Linked DNA regions of Homo sapiens: region 1 is linked to region 2. Evidence: promoter capture Hi-C in human tissues and cell types (Jung and others, 2019). All regions are on one chromosome and are shown on one strand. The core of a region is centred on a gene start or on the middle of the fragment in contact, and the rest is flanking DNA. Distances in the headings are between cores, read along the strand shown.

The links. The method cuts DNA at HindIII sites, captures the fragments that hold promoters and counts their contacts. A contact is called where the count stands out against the background at its distance.
Region 1: a fragment that was not itself captured here is called in contact with the fragment with the promoter of SLN in region 2 in 1 of the 25 tissues and cell types used here (IMR-90 fibroblasts).

What each region holds. Positions count from the first base shown.
Region 1 is chr11:107,532,684-107,537,302 of GRCh38, forward strand. The region is part of intron 7 of ALKBH8 (alkB homolog 8, tRNA methyltransferase); the gene reads right to left. Among named protein-coding and RNA genes, the nearest start is that of ALKBH8, 31 kb to the right of the region's middle. The HindIII fragment of the contact is 5,066 bases long and covers 485-4,619 here.
Region 2 is chr11:107,709,749-107,714,033 of GRCh38, forward strand. SLN (sarcolipin) reads right to left here and starts at 2,308. Exons shown (of 2, transcript NM_003063.3): 1 at 2,215-2,308. The HindIII fragment of the contact is 6,706 bases long and covers 1-4,285 here.

The DNA.
Region 1 (4,619 bases), core at 1,768-4,267, 180 kb before region 2:
GAAGCAGGTGGTCTCAGGATCACACCGTAGAAAACAGCAGAGTAGAGGTCAAACACAGGGACTTTGGAGCTGAAACACTCATATCCTGGCTCTTCCATTTATTAGCCACGTGACACAGGACAAGCCATTTAACCCCACTCTGCTTCTCAACTCTTACAGTATTTTACATAAATTATATAGACAATTATAAAGATAATCACAATAACTGGCATACAGTATAATAAATACACAAAAACTAGCTATTGTTTTTATTATTCATAGAATATTAATAATTAATAATCTAAGAAGAAATAAATATTAAATGCACCTTTAAAGTAATGTAACATACTGGGATTAGAGGCTGATTAATAAAGAGACAATCAAAAAAAAAGGAACATTTTCGGCAACTTTTCCTAAGTTATGCTCAAATATTATTCTGAATAGCAACCTATAATGACAAAATATCCAAGAAAATGCTTGTGCCCTAGGAACCCATCAAAAACCAAAGACTTCAGTCTAAAAATAGCAGCAGCTGACAAATATGAACTTAAAAGGCTTACTATAGGGCTGAAAACTATTCTTTTAAGGGAACAAATCAATCCATTTGAAAAATAGATATGACAACCAACTGTAAGTGGGACGAAAATAATTCAGCATAGTACCTTCCTTAAAGGTAAACCTGCATAGTACCTAGTACAAAGTAAGCATTCAATAAATGGTAGCTACTATTACTATTAATAGTAATATTGGATCAAATGAGATAATACACATGAAAATTCTCTGTAAACTATAAAAAAGTATACAGAGCTAAAGTAGTTTTCTTCCTTTCTAACCTATCCTTCCAATCTAAGTATGGAAAATAAAGTCATGTGATAGAGTTTAATTTCCTAACAGTTATCTGTTCCAGATGTCTACATATAATTTCATATAGTCATACCCTGAAAGCATTCGAAACACCGGAGATTAATTCTGAAGTTTTTAGAGATGAAGTGTATTGATACCTGCAACCTTCTTAAAATGTATACATAAAAGATGGACCAATAAACAGATAAAGGGATGAGAAGATGGTTAGATTATTTGGTAAAGCAAGTATATTAAAATATTAATTGTAGAATCTAGCTAGTAGACATATAAGTATTTACTGTACAATTCTTCAACTTTTCTGTATGAAAATATTCATAATTGGCTGAGCGTGGTGGCTCATGCCTGTAATCCCAGCACTTTGGGAGGCCGAGGTGGGCAGACCACTTGAGGTCAGGAGTTTGAGACCAGCCTGGCCAACATGGAGAAACCCTGTCTCTACTACAAATACAAAACATTAGCCGGGCATAGTGGTGGGCACCTGTAATCTCAGCTACTCAGGAGGCTGAGGCAGGGGAATTACTTGAACCCAGGAGGCGGAGGTTGCAGGGAGCTGAGTTCACGCCACTACACTCCAGCCTGGGAAACAGAGCGAGACACCGTCTCACCAAAAAATAAATAAATAAATAAATAAATTCATAATAAATTGTTGGGGGGAAATGGGAAAACCACAGTGGCCTCTTTTTAAACCAATTTATATAGGTTTCAGTTTTGTTAATAGAAGCCAAGGCCCACACCTCGAAAGAATAATGAGCATATTTATTATTAGAGACAATTATCTGTGGCTTAAAGGAAATCCATGCCCAGATATCCAGATGAAAACTGTCATGATGGGAAAATATTCTAGAAGACTAGACTCTAATTTGTTAGACAAATTTTATTAATCGTTTGGTGAGATATCAAAGGCTACAAGAGTGAAGAGAGACAAGCTCTATATCCACCTAGAAGTTACACTTTTTGGCTAATATTGAACATGTTTTACAAAGGCACAATACATACGTATTTGTGAAATTCAAACTTATTCCCTCCCATCAACGGACAGTAGTGATTTTCAAATAGGAAAATTTCAGCTTAAACAAGTGATTAGAACTCACAAGAGATATATGAACATGATATTAGTTAATTTTGAAACACCTGTCCTGGCATATACAAGCCAAGTTTCAAGGAGGAAAAATATACAACCAAATAAGCTAAATGTTTTTCTTTTTCTGTATCAAATTGACCATTCCTCATCTTTTTTTTTTTTCTCAATAGGTTTTTGGGGAACAGGTGGTGTTTGGTTATATGGATAAGTTCTTTAGTGGTGATTTCTGAGATTTTTGGTGCACCCATCACCCGAGCAGTGTACACTGTACCCAATGTGTAGTCCTTTACCCCTCACCCCCGCAACTTTTCCCCAAAGTCCCCAAAGTCCAATGTATCATTCTTATGCCTTTGCATCCTCATAGCTTAGCTCCCACTTATGAGTGAGAACATACAATGTTTGGTTTTCCATTCCTGAGTTATTTCACTTAGAATAATAGTCTCCAGTTCCATCCAGGTTGCTGCGAATGTCATTATTTTGTTCCTTTTTATGGCTGAGTAGTATTCCATTGTCTATATATACCACATTTTCTTTATCCACTCGTTGATTGATGGGCATTTGGGCTGGTTCCATATTTTTGCAAATTGCAAATGGTGCTGCTATAAGCGTGTGTGCAATTATCTTTTTTGTACAATAACTTCTTTTCCTCTGGGTAGATACCTGGGAGTGGGTCTGCTGGATCAAATGGCAGATCTACTTTTAGTTCTTCAAGGAATCTCCACATTGTTTTCCAAAGTGGTTGTACTACTTTACATTCTGACCAATAGTGTAAAAGTGTTCCCTTTTTTACCACATCCCTGCTAACATCTTTTATTTTTTAAATTTTTTTATTATGGTCATTCTCCCAGGAGTAAGGTGGCATTGCATTGTGGTTTTGATTTGCATTTCCCTGATAATTAGTGATGTTGAACATTTTTTCACATGCTTGTTGTCCACTTGTATATTGTCTTTTAAGAATTGTCTATTCATGTCCTTAGCCCATTTTTTGATATGATTGTTTGTTTTTTTCTCACTGATTGAAATTCTTAACTTTATCTTTGAACTTGTGTTAAATGAAGTCTGATGTAACAATGGAGTATGGGCTTAAGCAAGGAGATGCACGCAATATGCTTGTCCACAGTTCCTTGAGGCCCATTTGGGTAATGTGTCCACAATGTCCCATGAACACAGAAAGTGTGAGAGTTCACCGAGACTCAGAGTACACAGTAAGCACTTTATGTCTACCACTGAGTGAGTGAGGGTACACTGACAGCCTAGAGGGTCCTCCAGAACTTGCTTCAAATGTAGAAAGAAGACAATGGTGTTCTAAGAAACACAAGCAATCAAGTGTTAAATTAAATTTAGCCTAAAGTTAGTTGCCTCCTTATAAGTTCAGCCTAAAGGTTCTTCATACATAGTGAACTGTAATCTAACTGGATGTCTAAACAGACTGCTACCTACTATTTTACCAATCACTGAGTTTCACACAATAAAGGTGGCCATCTGTTCAAACCATGTCCACATAAGGCAAACGCCAAGCTGTAACTAATCCAGGTGTTTCTGTACCTCACTTCTGTTTTCTATATGTCACTTTACTTTTTCTGTCCATAAATTCTCTCCAACCACTCGGCAGCACTGGAGTCTCTCTGAACCTATTCTGGTTCAGGGCATTGCCTGATTTATCAATCATTCATTGCATAATTAAACTCAATTAAATTTAACTTGTCTAAAGTAACACAAGGAACCCCACCATCATATCCTTTCTTATTCATGTTACTTCCCTGTGTTAGCCAACTGCTTAACAGTGAAAATGATGATGTAGAAGAATACGGAATGACAGGACAACCTGAAGGCTGAAAGAAAGAGCTCAGAGTAGTGGATTAATGCAATAAGCCAAAAATGAAAGTTGATCACTTATTGTGATATAATAGCATAAACAAAGGTCTAAAACCAGAGGAAGCACCAACTCCCCCCAGTCCCATTTTTCTCCACTGAACACTGCATGACTTGAGGTTGAGGTGGATCATCTTGAATGTGGGGATTGTCTCACTGCTGAGGGAACCCTGAATGAAAGGTTCCAGCAGTGTTATAAACTCAGCGGTAAGGGGAAGGGTGAGTGGGAAAGACTAGGAATTGAAAAGTAGCTAGTACCAAGTCAGAGTAAGGAAAATGTCTTTGAGGTTTCCAACTCCCTCCTCCACAAAAAGGCCTCGGCAGAGGTGCCTGAAGAGGACGTCAGCCAAAGACCTCAGATAAAGAGTTCGAGGAATGAAGGTGTCTAGGCTAGGAATGCAAATAGGCATAAGAGCATAACCAGCCAGGGACGTTTGACCCCTTCATTACAACTCCACTTAGACTGTAATGCACTGGCTGTGCATCAAGTCTACTATGAGGAGGGCAGCTTTTTCCCCCATGAGGCCACCAGGTAAAGCCTTTGTCATCACCTATGGTGAGGCCTGAAAAATCACATAGGGTTTCAGCCTGGAGCCAGACTCCTGAAAATTCATAATTCCATTTCCTTCCAGTCCTTCTAGAAGACAGACAATGTTAGCAGAAGGTGCACAAATCAAGAAGTGAAACAAAAATGGTTATTGTTGGGTTAGTTTTGTGCAGTGTTTCCACTATTCTGGTAAAAATGATCACAAATGAATGTACAAGTACAAAATACAAATTGTTTAAGTTTGGTGATTCCCAATAGCAAAGACATGGAATCAAT
Region 2 (4,285 bases), core at 1,058-3,557:
ATATTTCATCTCCCTTTTAATTATTATCCATCTTTTAGACCTCAGCATGAAGGAAATAGTAAATTGCCAATGAAAACCATTACAAATGGCTGGGCGTGGTGGCTCATGCCTCTAATCCCAGCCCTTTGGGAGGCTGGAGTGGGAGGATCACTTGAGCCTAGGAGTTCAAGACCAGCCTGGATAACACAGCAAGACCCTGTCTCTCCAAGAAAATAAAAAGGGGAAAAAATAGAAAATCTTTACAAAGATTTGCATGGAGGAGAAAGTAAACAGAATAAAATGAATGGATCAAGGAAAAAGGATTTATGAGAATGTACAAAAGAGCAGAGGAGAACAGAACGGTAATGAGTCTTGCCAAGGTGCCTGGAGGCAAAGGAATGAGAAACGAAGACAGACTCTTTCTTATAAACTTATCAATGAAATAAAACCATAGTCCAAATGTCCATCTATTTGGGTAAGTTCTCAAGAAATGCAGAGATAAGCAGAAAATATGAAGCCTGGCTTATAATGGTCAAAACAATTCAAGGAGAGCAAAACAACGGTCCCACCAAATCTGCCTATTAAATTAAGCTGTTAAGTCATGGGAATCATGGATAGTGATCCAACAGGATATACTCAGAAAATGAGAAAAATACTATTGAAAGCTGTTCCACAGCTCTGTTTGTGTTACCTTCGCAACAACTCAGGCAAGTGTTACTGCAGTTTTTATCTTTCTCAAGATTACAGCTGAGAAACTGACTTTTAGAGAGAGGAGATTAAGATGTTTGTGTAATGACAGATAACAAGTTAGAGGCAAAGCTAGAATTAGCAGACTGGAACTAGTTACTAGAATTCCTAGGAGTTATGACACAAGTGAATTGTCACTGCAATTAACTGGCCTGGCTAAACAAAGTTAGCATAAATTTTCAACCACTTTGGAAAACAATTTAGCTTTCTTAGAATTAATGTTGAAAATGTTCATTCTCTAATATCTGGCATTTCACTTCTACCTTAAGACAGTCAAGGACGTGCGTGCCAGGTTACATAAATAAAGAGTTCACAGCAATATTATCACAATAACTCCAAACTGGAAACAACTCAAATGTTTATCAACAGCAGAATGGATGATAAATTGTGGTATAGTTATACATTTGAATTTCATAAAGCAAAGAAAATATATGAACTATAGCTACACAGAAAATGGGTAGATCTCACAAATATAATTGTTGGGTGAAAGAAGAATTTACAAAAGAAACAGAGAATATGACTCCATTTATATGATGTCAAAAATAGGGAGGTTAATCATATTGTTTAGGCATGCAGACATAGATGGTCAAATTATAAAGAATAACAGGGACAAGAGGATCCCAACATCTTGGGGCAGAATGGGGGTTGATCAAGAATGGGCTTCTGGGTGCTGGCAATGATCTGTTTCTTGACCTGGATGATAATTATAGAAGTGTTGCCTTTCAGTTATTGTTTAAACTGTGTATGTTTATGCACTCTTAACTTTTTTTTTTTCAGTCATTTCTGAATTAGCAGGCTACCCATCACACTTCTTTCTTTCTTGGGATTTACCTCTTACTACTTCTTGCACTTTAATGGTGACCTTGAATATTTGTTGTTTTATGTGATTTTAGATGAATAAAACATGAAGAGTTAAGGTGAGAATTTCTAGTGAATTCAATTCAATCAACACATATGCTAACTGTAAGGTGTGGTGTGAACATTCCTTTCACACACATTTATACACTTTAGGAAGAATGAACCAGTTAGGCAGAAATTCAGATCAGCCAAGTTCCATTTTTCTGCTTTTAACCAATAAAGACACTTTGGGTTTCATTTTAAACATTCCCTGAAGTCAAGGTCATGCCATATGATCCAGTGATTGCAAATGGATGAACTAAAACCCAAAAAGCTCTGAATAAATTGTGCAGGAAGTTTGACATTGGCTTTCTTTGAATGGAGACTTAGAGAAGATAGAAAAAAGACCATCTTCCATAATACAAGAAAGAAAAAAAATTTTTTTTTACTAGGAAGGGAGAAAATGCATACCCTTAGGAGAAAAAAAAAGGAAAACAGAAAGCAATAGTACTCACTTTATATCTTAAGGCATGCTGTATCCAAGGGGCATTGCCTATTTCATTAAGAAATGCAAACATTCCTCTGCCTTTCTCATTTGCAGCTTGTACACACACACACACCGTATGCTAAGCATAAAAATCCTGCAGTTACCTGAAGAGGATCAAAGACACACCCTGGCTATGGCAGGTTTCTCCTCGCTGTCTCCAACTTGAGCTCCAACTCCTTCTCCCCTCCCAGGCTGTCTGGACTCCTGGACTCTGGGCAGCGCCTAAAGTAGTCCGTGGAAGCTGGCAATCACTGTGATGTCACTGATGAAACATCTCAAAGGAACACCCTCCGAAGGTTCGAGGCTATTTGTGTTCGGGGGACATGGAAATATGTTGACTAAGACTTTGTTCCTTTGGCTGCCAATTTGCCACCACCAGGATTTAAAAACCTTCTGTTTCCAGTTGACTTTTAGTGCAATTGATGTGGGTTTTAAATGTGTCTTTTACATCTTCATGAATAACTTTAACATGTCTTTAAAACATCATAAACCAAGAATGATAGACTAATTTTAACCAATCGATGCTGCATTTGACTGCTCTCCCTAGTCAGCCTGTGAGGTGTAAAAATGTGACTTCATTTTACCACCCATATCTTTAGTTATTTGAAATGTGAAGAGTTTGCTGCCTTACACCCACACATATGCACACCCATACACACACACACACACTCCAGAATTCAATAGGCATCTTTAGCTCTTTCAAAACTGACTTTAGTCCAAGCAGTGAAAGCTATCCCCTCCGTCACCTGCTCCACGTAACTTTCCAGCTAAGCTGTGCATTGCAAGTTTACACGTGGATCTACAGTTTCATCTGAAACAGCCGAGGAAGTCATGGTTTGTATATCTCTGGCAATAAATTAATAGAGCAGTAAACTCACACAGTTCAACTCAGTTATTTGGATAGATTGGGAGTGGAAGGAGAACTGGGTAAAATTAGTGAAAAATGTGAATTATAGAATATATCTGAAAGAAAGAAAAGTATTATATAACTTTCTAATATGAACACTAACTAAAATTAGACTAAGATGAGTTTGTAACCAATGTATCACATGTTTGGAGCCCCTGAAGTGTTAAATTAGACTTGAAAGCAGATCAATTAAGTACTTTAAACATGACCCTAGCAATTGTGTTTGCTCAGCAGATCCTTTCTTTATAGATAATAGAGGAAATCTCCCCCTCTGAATTCCCAATTAGGGTCAATCAAAATAATGCATTCCCAAAAGGCATAAACAAACAAAATTCTCTATGCAGTTATGCTCATAGTCAAACCTTTCCCTCCATTCCTCATACCCCAGAGACATTACCAAAACAAGACTTTCCATTTCATTTCCTCATTTTAACATAAGCTTAGCAACGGGTAATCTTAATACAACATTCTGTCACCACTTGTCTTGTGAAAAGAGCGCTTGCTGAAGTGACAGAGAGTGTATAATAATTATAGTGCAACCGAACATTGGCAGTTATCTGTTGCCATCTGGCAAACTCCTTGAATGTAATCAGAGTTCTGTCTTCTGCCTCCAAGCTCTCACTAGATTGTTTCCCAGGCTGGGAATGTTTTTCTAGTTACCAAGCCACACCTGTCCCTTTTTGTAACCACTCAAAATTATTTTTTGTCAAATTAAAAAAGTTATATATTTATTGTAGGACATGTGAAAATATATTAAAGTATTTAAAACTTTTAAATTACTTTTAATCTCACCACCCAAAGGGGAAAAAAACAAAACTTTACTTTACTTTTTTTTTCTTTTGAGATGGAGTTTTGCTCTTGTCACCCAGGCTGGAGTGCAGTGGCGTGATCTCAGCTCACTGCAACCTCCGCCTCCCGGGTTCGAGCGATTCTCCTGCCTCAGCCTCCTGGGTAGCTGGGATTACAGGCATGCACCACTATGCCTGGCTAATTTTTGTATTTTTAGTAGAGATGGGGCTTCACCATGTTGGCCAGGCTGGCCTTGAGCTTCTGACCTCAGGTGATCCAACCGCCTCAGCCTCCCAAAGTGCTAGGATTATAGGTGTGAGCCACCGGGTGCCCGGCCTACATTACTTTTTATTCATCCGTTTGAGGCTGCATAGGCACAATCTCAAATTCCCAGGATATTTTTGGTAAAAGAATCTGAAACTTGAAAACCTTTTTTCTTAATTCATTTGGAATCAAATTATTTGTAGTATATCATGTGT